Linked DNA regions of Homo sapiens: all the other regions are linked to region 4. The links are contacts of gene promoters, found by promoter capture Hi-C in blood cells and fetal thymus (Javierre and others, 2016). All regions are on one chromosome and are shown on one strand. The core of a region is centred on a gene start or on the middle of the fragment in contact, and the rest is flanking DNA. Distances in the headings are between cores, read along the strand shown.

What was found. Contacts are between HindIII fragments. The CHiCAGO score rates a contact against its expected background, and 5 or more counts as called.
Region 1: a contact is called between the fragment with the promoter of RBM33 here and the fragment with the promoter of NOM1 in region 4, in 3 of 17 cell types (total B cells, non-activated CD4 T cells and naive B cells). The highest score is 10.3, in total B cells.
Region 2: a contact is called between a fragment that was not itself captured here and the fragment with the promoter of NOM1 in region 4, in 2 of 17 cell types (M2 macrophages and M0 macrophages). The highest score is 6.0, in M2 macrophages.
Region 3: a fragment that was not itself captured here is called in contact with the fragment with the promoter of NOM1 in region 4 in 1 of 17 cell types (M0 macrophages); the score reaches 5.2 in M0 macrophages.

What each region holds. Positions count from the first base shown.
Region 1 is chr7:155,642,821-155,646,931 of GRCh38, reverse strand. It overlaps RBM33 (RNA binding motif protein 33), which reads right to left and starts at 2,271. Exons shown (of 18, transcript NM_053043.3): 1 at 2,013-2,271. The coding sequence starts at 2,055. RBM33-DT (RBM33 divergent transcript) reads left to right here and starts at 2,526. Exons shown (of 3, transcript NR_126344.1): 1 at 2,526-2,718; 2 at 3,328-3,464; 3 at 3,962-4,111. RefSeq lists a silencer at 1,944-2,453 and an enhancer at 2,378-3,332. The HindIII fragment of the contact is 4,649 bases long and covers 1-2,523 here.
Region 2 is chr7:155,811,133-155,815,462 of GRCh38, reverse strand. SHH (sonic hedgehog signaling molecule) reads left to right here and starts at 3,000. Exons shown (of 3, transcript NM_000193.4): 1 at 3,000-3,640. The coding sequence starts at 3,341. RefSeq lists an enhancer at 57-700. The HindIII fragment of the contact is 272 bases long and covers 2,661-2,932 here.
Region 3 is chr7:155,758,410-155,762,221 of GRCh38, reverse strand. All of the region lies in intron 14 of RBM33 (RNA binding motif protein 33), which reads right to left. Among named protein-coding and RNA genes, the nearest start is that of SHH, 52 kb to the left of the region's middle. RefSeq lists an enhancer at 3,513-3,807. The HindIII fragment of the contact is 1,540 bases long and covers 846-2,385 here.
Region 4 is chr7:156,948,393-156,952,381 of GRCh38, reverse strand. It overlaps NOM1 (nucleolar protein with MIF4G domain 1), which reads right to left and starts at 2,670. Exons shown (of 11, transcript NM_138400.2): 1 at 1,658-2,670. The coding sequence starts at 2,644. RefSeq lists silencers at 2,250-2,299, 2,580-2,929 and an enhancer at 2,990-3,518. The HindIII fragment of the contact is 6,978 bases long and covers 1-3,695 here.

The sequences.
Region 1 (4,111 bases), core at 1,022-3,521, 1.3 Mb after region 4:
GTAAAGAAAACATTTCATCCTTTAATTCATTCACCAAATGTTTGTTGAACACATGCTATGTGCCAGGAACACGTGGAACGCATGGTAAAACAGGTAGCATTTTTGTCCTCATGAGGTTTACAGGCTACTGTGGGAGGCAGATTTAAAAAACAAGTAAAAACTGAAGAAAATTACAAATTAAGATAAACGTTCTGAAGAAAACAAACAAAGGTGCTAGAGAATGAAGACAAGAGAGGCACAAGAGCAACGGACATACATTCCTCAGATACAATGAATTCTCAAGGAAAGCCTCCCTTAAAAGCGTGAGATCCACTGGATCAGGAGTCAGCCCTGGCAAGAGCGGGTACAGGAGCAGTCCATGCGATGAACTTCCAGGATAAAGGAAGCAATCACACAACATGCTGGTGGGGTAGGCAGGGACCAAGTCATACAGAACTCACAAATCTTGGCAAGGAGTTTGGTATGAAGAGCAAAGGAAACTTTGGCACTTGTGACAAAATGGAAGGAAAAACTCCAAAGCATCATGAATAAAGCCTACTTATTCTTCTAAAATAGCAATTCTCAAAACTTCTGACCTCAAAATTATTGAAGACCCAAAAATGCCTGTTTATCTGGATTACATTCAGTGATATTACTATTTTAGAAATTTAAAATGAGAAACGTAAAAGAATACACAAGCATATATTCCATTAGCCATCAGCATAACGTCTTCACATGTTATTCAGCCTCTAGAAAACTCCACTGTACACTACTGAAAGAAAAGAGAAAAAATACAAATAACACCTTAGTCTTTCTAATGAAAAGAGTGTTCACCCAAGAGTTCCCAGGTTACACTGGGAATGCTATAAAACAAGTAATTCTGACCCCCAGAAAGATAGGTGAACTATACATTTTAAAATTTTAATTAGTCTCAGATGTAACACGCAAACATCATGTATTTAAACTGAAAGAAAAGTGGCATATAGCAAACCAAATTGCCAGAAGCGACATTCCTACACTTAGTCTTTTTTGTTTTTCCATTTTGTCAGGCAAACGTTTTGACAGTTGGGCCAAAATTCCTAAACAGGATGATAACAACGTAACCATCTGCTAGCATTTACTAAAAAATACTTCTCGAGTATACACTAGACTGGCTTTTCAACGTTTCAATGGTAAGAACTAATCCCAAATGCTTTTGTTATCCATATTTTACCATCTTTTCAAAGTTTTCAAAATAATCACTTAAAAAGTCACTTTCAAGTATCTCTCCACGTTTTTAAAACCCCCAGTGATATGTAATTTTACCTGAAAGTAATTTACCTACAATTTTTTAGAGATAGGTGTTTCATCAATACTGTTTATGCTTGCAAACAAGAAAAACTATCCAAAGGAACTGACTCAGTATCTAAACCTTTTGTGTCACGTTTTCACTTTTGGAAGACGCACATAAAACACTAACAGGTTATTAGACAACAAATAAGTTAATTTAAAACAGGGATTTATTGAGACTTTCTCAAGAAATCTCACTTTCCAAACTGGCCTACTGTCGCACATTCCTTCACACAGGTGAATCTTTTCGTTATGTTTTTGTAATGGGCTTCAAATCAATCTAAATCTGTCAGGATGGCCCCACAATCTTAAACACCCACCCTACAGCGACCTGCCCCGCTCTCCCTAAGTGACACTGTCTCGGGGGGTGGGGGGGGCGCTCTCCTACCCATAGGACACCAGGCCGGCTTCGGCACTTAATGCCCGCCAACGCCAGAGATGGGCCTGACACTTAGGCAGCCTTGCAAAGTAGAGGACACACAGAAGTTCACAGGTAAGTACGATCTGCACAGCGGAGAGGAGGAGCGAGAAAGGGAGAATGACAATAGCGAGGGAAGGCGAGGGAGAAAACGGAATAGGCCGAACACAAAGAGAGTCGGAGCCGGGGAGAGCCTCGTCCTCTCCTAAGCGGGGAGGCCCCCCGGCCTACACCCCCGCCCACCGCGGCGCGGTCCTGGCCCCCAGAGTCCGGCTGCCTCACGTACCTCCGGCGCCTGCTCCTCCGCTCGCTCCCAGGGCGGCCGCCATGGCACTCGCGGGGCCCGGCCTTCAGCCTCCCCCACCAAGCCAGCTGGTGGGCCGACGTGCCTGGTCCGGGCCCGGGTACGGGTGACGGAGGACAGAGAAGGGAGGGGGCTGCAGGAGGCAGAGGCGAAGCCGGGCGCTTCGCGGTCCACAGCTGGCCCTTCGCCTCCGCAGGAAGAAAACAACAAACTACCGCAACATGGCCGCGCGCCCGCGCCCGCCGCGGTGCACCCTGGGATGATGGAGGCCGGGAGGCGGGCGGGCGCCGGGGCCTGCCCCCGCCGAGGCCGCAGCAGCCCTGAGGCCGCCGCCGTGTTTCGGGCGGTGGGCGTGCAACGCAAACACGCGGCAGTCACCTCCGCCCGGCTCCTGAAACCCAAATGTTTGAAGCAGGGCGGGGACGACTGCTGGCCATAGGTCGATTCCGGGTTCAGTCGTAAGGCGCTTTGCAGCAGTCGGCAAAGCGAAGCTTTACGGCAGCCCGTCTCCCGTTAGGAGCCGGGGAGGCAAGGTCCAGCGTACGGTCCGGGGGAACCTTAACTGTCGTTTCTGTGCCTGGACAGTAGGTTGGAGAGTGGGGTCTGAATGAGCTACAGTAGTGAACGCCGACGGCTTGTGTTGAGGGCAGGAAAGGGTGCACACAGCTCCGGCAGGTGCTTCCGCGAGGTGAGATGAGTGCCGCGCGCGCCGGGCTAACGTGCACGCGCACTCGTGCGGCGCCCGCGAGCCCTCACTTCCTACAACCCGAGACCCTCCGGACCCGCGACCCCGGACCCCCGTCCCCTTCTCCGCGCCCGGCTGGGCAGCGGGCAGCGCCGGACCCTGATGGGCTCTCGGCCCTTACTGCCCCTGCGCCTTGCGGCCCTGAGAACAAGACGTGAGCAGGACGGATAGCGCCCGGCACTCATGTCTGAGTTTGCATTTTGAGCAGTGAGAAAGGTTAAGAAACGAAATCCTCATACTTGACATAAAGGAAAGGGTGCTGGGTGGTCAGACAGCTGTGGACGAAAGGGCTCAGGGGTTTTGGGGTGTGGGGCCCGGGAAGGCGCATCTGAGTGGTCGCAGTCGGGGAAGGGGGTTGATTAAGTACACACCGGCTGTAAACATTGATTCCATATCGGTCAATGTGGGGCTTAGGTGAGGCGTTCTGACCCAGCAATGAAACTGGAAAGGTAGGCAGGGGCCAGGATTCCGGACTTTGGGACGTTTTTCTGAGTCTATGGGGTCTATTGAAAGATTTTAGAAACAATTTACATGGTAAGATTTGTATTTTAGAAAGGTGACTGATACAACAACGTAGAGGACCCTGCAATGTGGAGAGGCATGAAACTGGAGGTCCAGTGCCGTGAGTTAACAATCAAGACGTCCATACAGGAGATGCATTGGTGGATGGGTGAAGAGATGATAAAACGGTACGTATAATAAAATGCTGGCCGGGCGCGGTGGCTCACGCCTGTAATCCCACCACTTTGGGAGGCTGAGGTGGGTGGATCACGAGGTCAGGAGTTTGAGACCAGCCTGACCAACATGGTGAAACCCCGTCTCTACTAAAAATACAAAAATTAGTTGGGCGTGGTGGCACGCGCCTGTAATCCCAGCTACTCAGGAGGCTGAGGCAGGAGAATTGCTTGAATCGAGGAGGCGGAGGTTGCAGTGAGCCGAGATTGCGCCACGGCAATCCAGCCTGGGTGACAGAGCGAGATTCTGTCTCAAAAAAAAACAAAAAAATTATTCAACTGTGAGAACTCACTCCCCAAAAAAAATGTTTTGCAAGCAACTCATTGAAAAATGGTCTCTATTAAAAAGCACGTTAATACATCCATATTTAAATGGCTTGAACTCTTTATCACCTTTCATTATTTTTTGAACTGTGGAGGATGGCATGCCTAACTCAGAAAATATTTTTCAGGATAATTCAGTGGTGATCTTCAGAAGAATTCCACAAAAAACCAAATTAACAGATGAAACAATCTCATAAGCCACTTGAAACTGAATTTCTCTAGAACAAGAGTCTATAAAATTTTTTGATCAAACACCCACTGGAAAAATTTTTTAGCGT
Region 2 (4,330 bases), core at 1,547-4,046, 1.1 Mb after region 4:
CAAGCCCGAGCCGAAGGCAGAGTGAGGAGGCCATCTAGCGGCAGGGGCCGGAAGGAGGGGCAGGGGCAGTGCCCAGGAGGGAGCCTGGGGGCTGGGGCAGAAGAGGAGGCAGCTTCTGTCCTCAGCAGGGATGCTGGGCAAGGGGTGGAGGTGGGGGAGGGTGGGGGAGGGAAAGCTGGAGGAAGGAGCGAGGGAGGGATGCGCGTGACCCCAAGGAAGAGAGGCAGAGCCCAGGTAGATGAATAACGGAGCCCCAGCATGTCCGGATGTCTGGCCTTGTCAGGGAGGCTGGTGTTTGGAGCCTCTGCTGGTGCGGGGAGGGGGCCAAATGGTCTGGGGGGGGGGGGGAAGGCAAAGAGATAGAGCCACCTGGCCTCTGGAGGGGAAGGCAGTGCTGGGCCGTGGGGAGCAGGTGGGATGGAAGGACAGGGAGTGAAGGGCGGGAGGGCAGAGCAGCAGCTTCTCTGGGGGGCTCAGTCAGCAGCCTGGTCTATAACTGGGATTGCTTTCTGCGCCGAGCTCCCCTCAACCCATGCAGGGGGCAGGCCCTCTGAACTTAGGCGTGGGGGCAGGCTTTCTGGCCCATCATTATTTCACTCTGGAGGATCGGCCAGTCTACAAGGGGGGCGGCCCCTGAGGTGCTCTCCAGGGTGTCTAGGGCTGTCTGGAGATGGAGGGGAGGGAGGGGGCCTCACGCCATCCCTTAGGGCAGGGAGGTTTCAGGAAATGCCCTGAGTCACCCAAGCTCAATGCCAAGCCACGTCTTCTCCCTGCGCTCTGCTAAGAGGGAGCTGACCGCACCTGGGGGCACCCCACGTCCAGCTGTGCCCACAAGGAACTCTGTGCAGCTCAGGCTTTTGCTTCCAAAAGCACACCCCACCCACCCTGCCCCTTGCAGAGGTGAGCTGTGTGCACATGCCACCTCCCGGCAGGGCTGCACACCCAATCTCTCAGGCCCCAGGGTGGCAACCCGTGTGGGGGGCCTTCTGCCTGCATTTGGAAGGGAGTAAGTAGCGGGGAAAGACAGGGGGAGGAGGAGGGACTGGGGCAAGAGGAGATGCCAAGGGTGGAAGGCAGGGCAGTCAAAAGTTTGCAAATGTCCCACTGGGCCAGGTCGCTGGTCCAGCCCAGGCACCACCCAGTGATGTGACATCCACATGCTGTGCAGGTAGACACATCAAACAGGCCGGCCTCCTCTGGAGAGAACACGGGTCCTGTTTTGTGTCTGTTTTTACTGGGAACGGGACAGGCAGCGCAGACACACCGCCTGGAGAATCCCTGGGCTCAGCTGAGCTCCAGCTCCGCTCAGTGGAGGCTGCCGGGGCCTGGTCAAGTGGACGCTGCTCCCCCACGGTGCTCTCCTCCAGGGATCACGATTCGTCACAAACCATGGAAAGGAACAAGAAAGAGAGGCGGGAAGGGGAGCCCGGGTCAACCTCCCCAAAGGCACCCAGGCCACCGAGTCTTGTTAACGCTCAGCCTCTCATGCCCAAGACAGATGTGTCCTAAGATGCTCCTCTCCTTCTCTCCCCCACCACACACACAAAAAGTTGATCTGCAAAGGGAACTTCTGGAAACTTCCATCGTTTGAGGGCTGAGCTTCACAGGGGTCCTCTCCCCCTCCACTCCAAGGGCCCGGGGTCAAGGGAGAGTGTTTAACTTCACAGGGCCACATTTGCAGCATCTGATGACTCCTCAGGGTCAGGATTTCCCCTCCACGTAAATAACCCTCACTCTCTAATCCTATGCTAGAGGAATCATTGCACATGAGTGGGATGGCGATTGAGAAGGGGAAGGGCATGATCTGTTTTTTTTTTTTTAAAAAAAAAAAGAAAAGCAGGGTTGAGAGGGAGCTTCAAATTTTATTTTCCTGGTTTACTTAGGACTTTTGAGTTTTTTTCCTTTTTCTGCAAAAAGTGAGGTGATTATAGACTCAAAGATTGCCACCTCCTGGGCACTGTGCCCTCTTTCTAGGAAGCCCCTCGTTAACCAGAACACTGTTCCCCCAGGGCCCCTGACCCCTTGGGCTGCAGCCCCTAGGACTGGTGGCTCCTGTGCCTGAAGACTGCTGGCCTGCTGAGCCCCCACACAAGGCCAGCTTTGCAAGGAGCCTGAATTCCACATTCAGCTCACCCCTGGCTCTGCACTTTGCTCTGATCGATCGTGGGGGTTGTGTGAGCACAGCTTCGCCCACTCGCCTGCCCCCCCCCCAACACCCTGCAATGGCCTCCACACACCCAGCGCACACACTGGCCCCCACTCTCTCCCCTGTGCTGGGGTGCAGCCCCCAGACCTGCTTTGCCCATCCACCCTGACGCCCGCAGTTCACTCTGTAACTGCCCTTGAGCACGCCTCCATCCCATTTGCAGAGCTCTACAAAAAAAAAAATGTATTAATTGAAGCACAATAAAAGAGCAGTATTTTTACATTTTTCTAAGGCACTTAAAGCATTTCAAATACCAGTGCTTTAAGTTATGGTCACTCATAATTATCCTCGGTCCACAGAGGCTGAGTCTTCAGGAGGGGCTCAGTCCTCTTTCTTCAAAATGCAGGGAGAGCCAGCCTGCACTATAAAGTCCCTGGGGAAGAAAAATTAAATAACAGCTGGGCAGCTGTGCCCCTCAAATGTGTGAGCGACTCTGTGCTTGATGACTGAAGCTTGCGGGGGTTTAAACTGTCCTTTAAAAACTTAAGTTGGTTTTAACTGAAGCACCTACCATTCCAGGGAAAGTCAGGGGGAAACGCAAGGATGTACACAAAGCCGGGAGTAACTGCTGTTACCACAAGACATGCGCTCCTCCCTCCCGCCCACCTTTATCTTAGGAAAGATTTTTTTTTTTTTAACTCGAATCCTTCAGGTGAAAATAAAGCAACAGCAGCAACAGAAAAAAAAAACGTAGTCTTCTTCAGGGTTAACATCAGAAGACAAGCTTGTGCGGCTTTGGCCAATCAGATGCGCCCCTGGCAGCTATAATATAGTGCTAAAGGCAGCCTCTCTCACAAGCTCTCCAGGCTTGCTACCATTTAAAATCAGACTCTTTTTGTCTTTTGATTGCTGTCTCGCGACCCAACTCCGATGTGTTCCGTTATCAGCGGCCGGCAGCCTGCCATTCCAGCCCCTGTCTGGGTGGGGAGCGGTGGAGAGTCCCCCGCAGCCGCGGCGGGCAAGGTTATATAGGAAGAGAAAGAGCGAGGCAGCCAGCGAGGGAGAGAGCGAGCGGGCGAGCCGGAGCGAGGAAGGGAAAGCGCAAGAGAGAGCGCACACGCACACACCCGCCGCGCGCACTCGCGCACGGACCCGCACGGGGACAGCTCGGAAGTCATCAGTTCCATGGGCGAGATGCTGCTGCTGGCGAGATGTCTGCTGCTAGTCCTCGTCTCCTCGCTGCTGGTATGCTCGGGACTGGCGTGCGGACCGGGCAGGGGGTTCGGGAAGAGGAGGCACCCCAAAAAGCTGACCCCTTTAGCCTACAAGCAGTTTATCCCCAATGTGGCCGAGAAGACCCTAGGCGCCAGCGGAAGGTATGAAGGGAAGATCTCCAGAAACTCCGAGCGATTTAAGGAACTCACCCCCAATTACAACCCCGACATCATATTTAAGGATGAAGAAAACACCGGAGCGGACAGGCTGATGACTCAGGTAGGAACCCAGCGCCGGGGCGTGGAATGTGTGGCTTTCCAGGGGGTTACGAGAAGCCGAACACTTCCAGACTTAACTCTGTTTGCTCTTCGGGCAGATAGGAAGGTGATTTCACCCGCTCCTTCCCCACCCACCTGCCCGCCCCCCATCTCTTCCTCTTCCTGGAGGAGAATGGAGGTCAAGGGTCCAGCTGGAGAAGTTTAGGGTGTGGTGGGGGTGAGGACGGTAACAGACGTGGTTCATTATGGCCCTGATTTGATGAGTCTTGCTACAATGGCCTTCCCCATCCTACCTCTGCCCTGGCTTGTAACTTGGGGAGACCTTCACTTTGGGGGCGTCGGCCCTTTCCAAGTCAGGAGTGGAAATGGAAGGAGAGGCTGGGAATCCCCCTCCCACAAACATGAAGTGGTCTCCTGGTACTGTACGAACGAACGAACGTAGCCTTGGGCATTGGAGCTCAGAGCCCCCACGTTTCCCGTTGCCTCTGTGGTTTTCTTTCCCACCACTACCCCCACCCTGCACCTCCCCACCAAAGAATTCTCAACTGGAAAAGCCAGGAGGCGGTTCTGACAAAAGGCAGGGGCTCCAGGGGAGACTCCGCCCGTCCCTGGGTGGCTGGCTGTATCGCAGAGCTGGCTTTGCGATTGCGTGTCCGCAATTGTGCCCATCAGAGTGTGAATGTATTGATAT
Region 3 (3,812 bases), core at 366-2,865, 1.2 Mb after region 4:
AATCTGAGAAACCTAATGAGGAAATTCCAGAACGGAAAGTGCTAGAGAAGGCCTAGATGGGCTCTCCCCACATGGCTGCCTGGGAAGCCCCAACCCACACACAGATAACTGGCCATGGGGGGCCATGCAGGGTCCAGAGACCTGAGCACAAGCTCATCCCAGGCGCTGGCTGGCCACTAAGCTACGCAGCAGTCGGGTCAACCCCTAGGAAGCTAGGCTGAGAAATAAAAATAATACAAACACTGAACAAAAAATATTTAAACTGAATGGAAACAAAAATACAACACATCAAAATTCAGGGGCTGCAACTTAAGCAATGACATCAAAAAGGAAAAACATCTAAAATCAGTCATTTGAGTTTCTACCTCAAGAAGCTAGTCCCCCGTCCTCAAAAAAGGAAATCAAACCCAAGTAGAAGGAAGGAAAATGATAAAGATGACAGCGAAAAGCAACGGCATGGTAAACAGAAAAAAGACAATCTGTGAAACCAAAAGTTGGTATTTTGAGATCAGCAAAAAATTGATGCTCCTTTAAGGATACTGACCAAGAAAAAAGGAAAGAAGATGAATTACCAAAATAAGGAAACAAAGAGGGATCACCGCAATGGACCCTAAGAAATTTAAAAAACATTACAAGCAACTTTACATCAACACACTAGACAATTTACATGAAATGAGCAAATTCAACGAGACACAAGTACCAAAACTGACCGAAAGAGAAAATACGAATAGAACTCTAAGAAGTAAAGACAATGAATTAAAAACCATTCACAAAGAAAAACAAAGACCCAAATAGCTTCACCAGTAAGTTTTACCAAATATTTAAGGAAGAAAGACTACCAAGCTTACGCAATCTCTTTCAGAAAACAGAAAAGGCAGAAGCACTTCCCCACTCATTCTTTGGGCCTGGTATTACCCTAATACAAGGCCAAAGGCATCAAAAGAGAAGACAACTGCAAAAGAATATTCCTCATAAACATACATGAAAAAAAATCCCCAACAGAATATTAGCAGACTAAATCTAGCAACACGGAAAAGGGATCACACCTCATGACCAGGTAAGATTCATCCCAGAAGCGCAGGGCTGGTTTAACACCCCCCCGGTTAACCAAGGGAACACACTACACAAAGGAAAGGACCGTGTGTATATCTGCTATCGTCCAGCCAGGGCTGCGGGTGACTGAGCCAGATGGGTTCTCCCACCTAACGCTCTATGACTCTACCATTTGAATTATCATCGCCTGAAACGTGCGATCTTACTGGGAGTCGCTCCTGTCTTACAGGGGCTACCCCCAACCCCCACATGAAAATGGAAGCACTGTGAAAAGGCAGACCGCTCGCAAAATCCAAAGTCAGGCTGGTAGTTTGTGCCTCTTAAATCTTCTCCACAAGGTCTTCTACCCAAGGTGTGAGTAGGTATCCCACCAGGCAGGGAGGGCCTATACTGAGTACACAATTTTTCAGTCTGTATCTTAAAAAACTATGTGAATTCTCTCTAGTTTTATACATGCTTGAAATTTTCTATACTAAAAAGTTTTAAAATTTAAAAATATATACCACATACCCTCATCTTTCATGAGAACCAGTGACCATTAATTTATCCAAAATCCTATTGCAATGTTGTTGCCTGACAGTACAATCTTAGTATGAGATTCATAAATTCACTATGCACGTGTTCAGCTGTACTGCCACTGAAAACATTCCTCCTCTTTACAAGCGCGAACACTTCACACCAACCTCCAGGTCCCATGAGGGCCCATGTTAGGTGGAGGGGACATCAGACCACTCAGTTCTCCACACAACTCAGCAACCCAACAGTCTTACTGACTGTGATTCTCCAACTTCTACCCTTTCCACTAACGTGGGCAAATGCATGGACTGTGGAAGGTTTGCTCTCTAAGAAGGACTTCCATCGTATGAACTTAAGCAATCTAAATCAGCTCCCTGGTAGCTTAACCAACTAGGTCTCCAAGGATGCCGACCACAACATTTGCTGTCTTGTAAGTGCTTGAGAGAAGCCAGTGGTTTAGACCCCAGTGAATCTCTTGTTCAGCTTACCAAAATGTCTCATGCACACAGAAGGCACTGAAATATTTAGTGAATAGATCAGTAAATAGTTGCCTGTACTTTTTAAAGTTAAGTAGTTCTGAATGTGCTAAGAGAGATTATAGCATCAGAATACTAGGTTACAGCCACTGTCAATCAGTACACACCTATTTACTACACCACTAAGATAATAAAAGGCCAACTTTCAGCCCAGCAACATGAAGTGTCACGTGGCAGAAAGAGAGGCGACAGTACCTTTGGCCTGGAGGGAACGATGTTCACAGAACATGACGGACAGCAAGACGAATGCTCTGGCCGGTTTCCCTGGCAATCCAAAGCTTGAAACAAGATGGTCTAGAGAGGAAACTTTAACAACAATAGGTGGCACCAAAAGGAGGATGTTATTATTTGCATGTTGTAAGGTATACAATGTGTATGTGTACTTGGGTGATAAACACATAACACTGTAGTAATTTGATAATTTTTAAACTGTGCTTTGGGAGGCCGAGGCGGGTGGATCACGAGGTCAGGAGATCGAGACCATCCTGGCTAACACGGTGAAACCCCGTCTCTACTAAAAATACAAAAAAAATTAGCCGGGCGCGGTGGCGGGCGCCTGTAGTCCCAGCTACTCAGGAGGCTGAGGCAGGAGAATGGCGTGAACCCGGGAGGCGGAGCTTGCAGTGAGCCGAGATCGCACCACTGCACTCCAGCCTGGGAGACAGAGCGAGACTCCATCTCAAAAAAAAAAAAAAAAAAAAGAACATAAACATTGAGTCAATAAATACCCCGAATAAGAAAAAGTTCTCTTCATCATTATTTTGGGTAAGAGACTGGTGAAAATTTATGTCTGGTGACATTAACGTCAGATAAGAACTCTGAAAAATAAATTTCTAAACTTTTATTTTCCATTGAAGGAAAGTTTATTTTTTAAGTAGGCTTGATCTCTATTTAAAGTTCAGAAATACAGGTATTACAAAAAGCCTTTCTCTTCCTCATCTGTTTCAAAAAAACTAAAATTTCCTTATGCAGATCTTGTAACATAAAGAAAGGGTCCTGATGTGATGGTGTCATACCTCGTTGACGACTTTCTAAGAAATGGCCTGAAAAGACAGGAATAAGGCCTGTGATGAGACAGTCCCTGCAGACAGAGACCTCACCTCCTAGTGCCACCTCTGCTCATTCCGTGGGGCCGGGTGGGCCTTCCTGGGCCTGCCGCTGCACCCCTCCCTGCTTGGGAAGCTCTTGGGCCCAGACTGACAGACTCTTCGGTCCCAGTGGCAGGTTGGGATGCAGCTACTTGGTTTTTCTTCCCAGTGGGTCTGGCTCTCGGTGGTCTCTTGCTTCCTGGAGGCATGTGCACCACAGTGTCCTCAGGGCAGGCAGACACCAGAAGACACAGAAAGTGGGGTGCTTCAGAGTCTTGTGATGCCGACTACCCAACTTTCAAGGAAAGACTCTTCCTACAAACCTGCTCAGCAGAAAGAAGCCCTGCCTGGGTAAGCTCTGGAGCTGCTTATATCCAAGACAAGTTTTTGTACCTTATACAGCAGGGGTCCCCAACCCTCACTACCAGTCTGTGGCCTGTTAGGAACTGAGCTGCATGCACCGCAGGAGGTGAGCAGCAGGCAGGCAAGCATTACTGCCTAAGCTCCGCCTCCTGTCGGATCAGCAGCGGCATTCTCACGGGAGCATGAATCCTACTGTGAACTGCCCACGCGAGGGATCTAGGTTGCCAGCTCCTTATAAGACTCTAATGTCTGATGA
Region 4 (3,989 bases), core at 1,421-3,920:
CAAGAACTGGTGGAAGCTGCTACTGATCATTGCTGCTTAAATACATCAGATTTATTGAGTGCTTAGTATATGGGTAAACATTCCACTCACCAGGCTGTGCCTGTCACTATTCCCATTAATGCTATTAATAATACATTTCACCATCTCGTTTTCCCCTGTGTAGCTCTTCAGACCCAGCTGTGCACCTCTGGTATCTGCTCAACTCCAACAGAGCCCTATCTACTGCGCTTTTGCTCGGCCTTAACTTACTGCAGGCACAGTAGCATACAAGAACCTAAATTAAACAAACCGCTAATTTTGGAGGGAAAGTGTCCTAAAAACAATTTCAAACTTGTTTAAAAGTAATATCTAAGTTTATATGATAAAAATCAAAACCGGCCGGGCACGGTGGCTCATGTCGGTAATCCCAGCACTTTGGGACGCTGAGGCGGGCGGATCACGAGGTCAGGAGATCAAGACCATCCTGGCTAACACAGTGAAACCCCATCTCTACTGAAAATACAAAAAATTAGCCGGGCATGGTGGTGGGCGCCTGTAGTCCCAGCTACTTGGGAGATGAGGCAGGAGAATGGCATGAACCTGGGAGGCGGAGCTTGCAGTGGGCGGAGACTGCACCACTCTACTCCAGCCTAGACGACAGTGCAAGACTCAGTCTCAAAAAAAAAAAATCAAAACCAACTCACTGCTATTTCCTAAATTATCAAGGGGGGTGGTGGTGTTTGCAAATCATTAAGGACACAAACATTTGCAAGGCACGATCCTCACTGCTAGGTAGTTTAAACCTGGTTCAATAAAGAATATTTGTATACATAGAAGCTGAATATTTACATACATAGAACTAGTGCGATGTGGGGAGAAGGAAATGCAGGCAATTCCACACAGCTGCCTCCAACCATGAGCTACATGCAAAGGAACGCTGAGATAAAATATGCAAGATGACAGCCCATGAATGCCTTGATTGCTACGTCCTAGATTCTGAACTTTTTTTTTTCTTTGAAACAGAGTCTGGCTCTCTCGCCCAGGCTAGAGTGCAGTAGCGCGATCTCGGCTCAGTGCAACCTCTGCCTCCCTGGTTCAAGCCTCAGCTTCCCAAGTAGCTGGGATTACAGGCGCCTGCCACCACGCCCGGCTGTTTTTTGTATTTTTAGTAATGACGGGGTTTCACCACGTTAGCCAGGCTGGTCTCAAACACCTGACCTCAAATGATCTGCCCCGCCTCAGCCTTTATCTTTAATTCAATGTTGGACTTTATCTAAGGGAGTGCTGTAAATTAGCTTCGAGTTTTAGAAAATTCACTCTAAAAGTCGGGCACGGCAGATGTCCTCGGATACTCGAAAGAGGCCTTAACAGATGAGGTAGGGTTAACAGGTTTAGAGACCTGGGCTGGTAAACACAGAATGAAGATGCTGCACTGTGGAAATGGCCCTTAAGTCCCCGGGATAAAAATGTCTCTATATTGCTTTTCTCCTAAACTTTACATTATGAAAATTTAAAAACATGAAAGAAGACCGAATAGAGTAACGTACTCGATTTACTCACATTCAGCTGAAACCATTATCAAGACACCAAGTCTGTGTCATTTCTGCCTCACGCCCCATTCCCTGTCCCGTTATTTTGAAGGAAATCCCAGAGGGCCTAGAGAGTGTTCACACGATACCTTATCCGTTATGTCACCGTCCTCCGAGGAATTTTCACTCTTTTCTTCATCTTCTGCAAAACGGACTCTCTTCCCCCTCCTTTTCTCCTGCGCTCCCTTTTCCTTTTCTTCCCCCTGTTCCTCTTCTGTATCCTCGTCGTCGTCCTCGCTCTGCGCTTCTGCTTCCTGCGCCTTCTTTTCCTTTTCTACGTCTCCCTCCTCCTCCTCCTCACTTTCGTCCTGGGAGTCACTCTCTAAGTCACTTTCGGGGAGTGTCTGTCCGGCATCTTCCTCCTCCTCACCACTGCTGTCGTACAAGCCGCTATTTTTCCCAGACTCCAGGGCTCCCAGAATATAGTCAAGACCGTCGCGTGCAAAGCTCAGCGGCACGGAGCTGCTGCCGTCCTTCTTTTTGCGCTTGTTCAAACCGAGGCAACGCTCCAGCTTTCGGATCTCTCGGTCCTCCTCCTCGTTCGCCGCTAAAAGCGCCCGTTTCCGGGCAGCGGCGGTGGCGGCTGCGGAGGGTCTGGTCTTTGCGGTGGCGGCCGTGGCCTTGGCCTTGACCCGGGACGGCCGCGGCTTCCTGGGAGGCGAGGGGTCCCGACTAGGGGCTGGGCGGGCGCGCTCCTCCGTGTCCTGCCGGTGACCGCTGGCTTCTTCGGCTCCGCTTCGGCCTCCCAGGCCGGGACCCTGTTCGGGGCCCGCCGTCCTCTGCAGCCGGCGTGCTTTCCGCAGGTGCCGCTTCTCCTTCCTCAGTTCCTTACGGCTTTTTCTCCCTCCCGGGCGAAAGCTCACCGGGGCGCCGCGCCCCTCGCAACCCCCGGGAGCCTCGCCTTCCGAAGTCGCGTGCACGAACTCCTCCACCGCTAGCTTCAGCCTCTTCAGGGCCTTCTCCCCACCGCCAGCAGGACCGCGGCGCGGCCCGCGCCCGCCTCTGCGCTTCATGCGGACCACGCGTCCCTGGGAGCCGCCCGGGCCGGCCTCTCCCGCGCTCCTGGACGCCGCCATCTTTCGAAACGCGTGGACGCACGACTTCCGGCCGAGGCGGGACTTCCGGGGAAGAGGCGGCTGCGCGGGGCGGGCGGGCGGCGCCCCCTGCTGGCCGGAGGGCGACAGCGTGCAGAGCTGCGCGGAGCCGGGTGCGGGGGCAGCCGGGCAGGTGGCGCCCGGGGCAGGCGCGCCCGCGGGTGGGCGCCGCGTGGACGTCAGGCTCGCGATGAGCATGGAGGTGCCTTCACATTTAAAAGGGAAATCCGGCCGGGCGCGGTGGCTCACGCCTGTAATCCCAGCACTTTGGGAGGCCGAGACGGGTGGATCACCTGAAGTCAGGAGTTCGAGACCAGCCTGGCCAACCTGGTGAAACCCACCCACCCCCCTACAAAAATTAGCTGAGCGTGGGGGCACGCGCCTGTAATCCCAGCTACTCGGAGGCTGAGGCAGGAGAATCGCTTGAACCACGGAGGCGGAGGTTGCAGTGAGCCGAAATGGCGCCATTGCACTCCAGCCTGGGCGACAGAGCGAGACTCCAAAGGGAAATCCTCGCGTATGATGGAGGGGAGACTCCGCGCGGGTCGGCGCGGTGCCGGAGGTTGGCGGCGGCGACGACGCTGGGATGCGCGGGCCCCAGGTTCGTGTCCGCCCAGGACCCAGGAATGCGACCTTATTTGGAAATAGGGCCTTTGCAGATGTGGTCGAGAGGAGCCCTCGTGGGTTAGGACTGGCCCCAGAGCCAGCGTTCTCCTGAGAAGCAGGCTCTGGATACGGACCAGGGAGACGCCTGTGGCCCCCAGGCGGCCGAGGACCCCTGAGGAGCCGGCCCTGCCCAGGCTGGGTTTGGACGCTGGGCCCCGAGGGCAGAGCGTTTGAGGTTCCTCTTTACTGGGTAACTTGAACCGGGAAGCGAACGCAGAGGCCGCGCAGTTTGCGTCTGGATTTTTGGGAAGCCCGGAGGCGCAGGAGCAGCCTCGCCTAGCAGTGAGCTGGGGGAAGACGGGGCTGCTGCTGTGGGGTTCTCGGCCTGACCAGGGGCCGCTTCTCTTCCCGGACAGCTTCAGAAGCTTCATTTCCACAGAGTTCCCACCCTTGACTTAATTTAATTTAATTTAATTTTTTTTCTTTTTTTTTTCTTGAGACCGAGTCTCACTCTGTTGCCCAGGCCGGAGTGCAATGGCGGACCAAAGTGCTGGGATTACAGGCAAGCCACCGCGCCCGGCCCGTCCTTGACTTTAAAATGATTTAATTTTTGTCAACTTGTCAGCTCAAAATGGCATCTTGTCATTTAGTTCCTGATGAGAGTGGGTGTCTTTGTTCACTGGCCATTTGTATTTCCTCCTCTGTTTATGGCCTTTGTCCA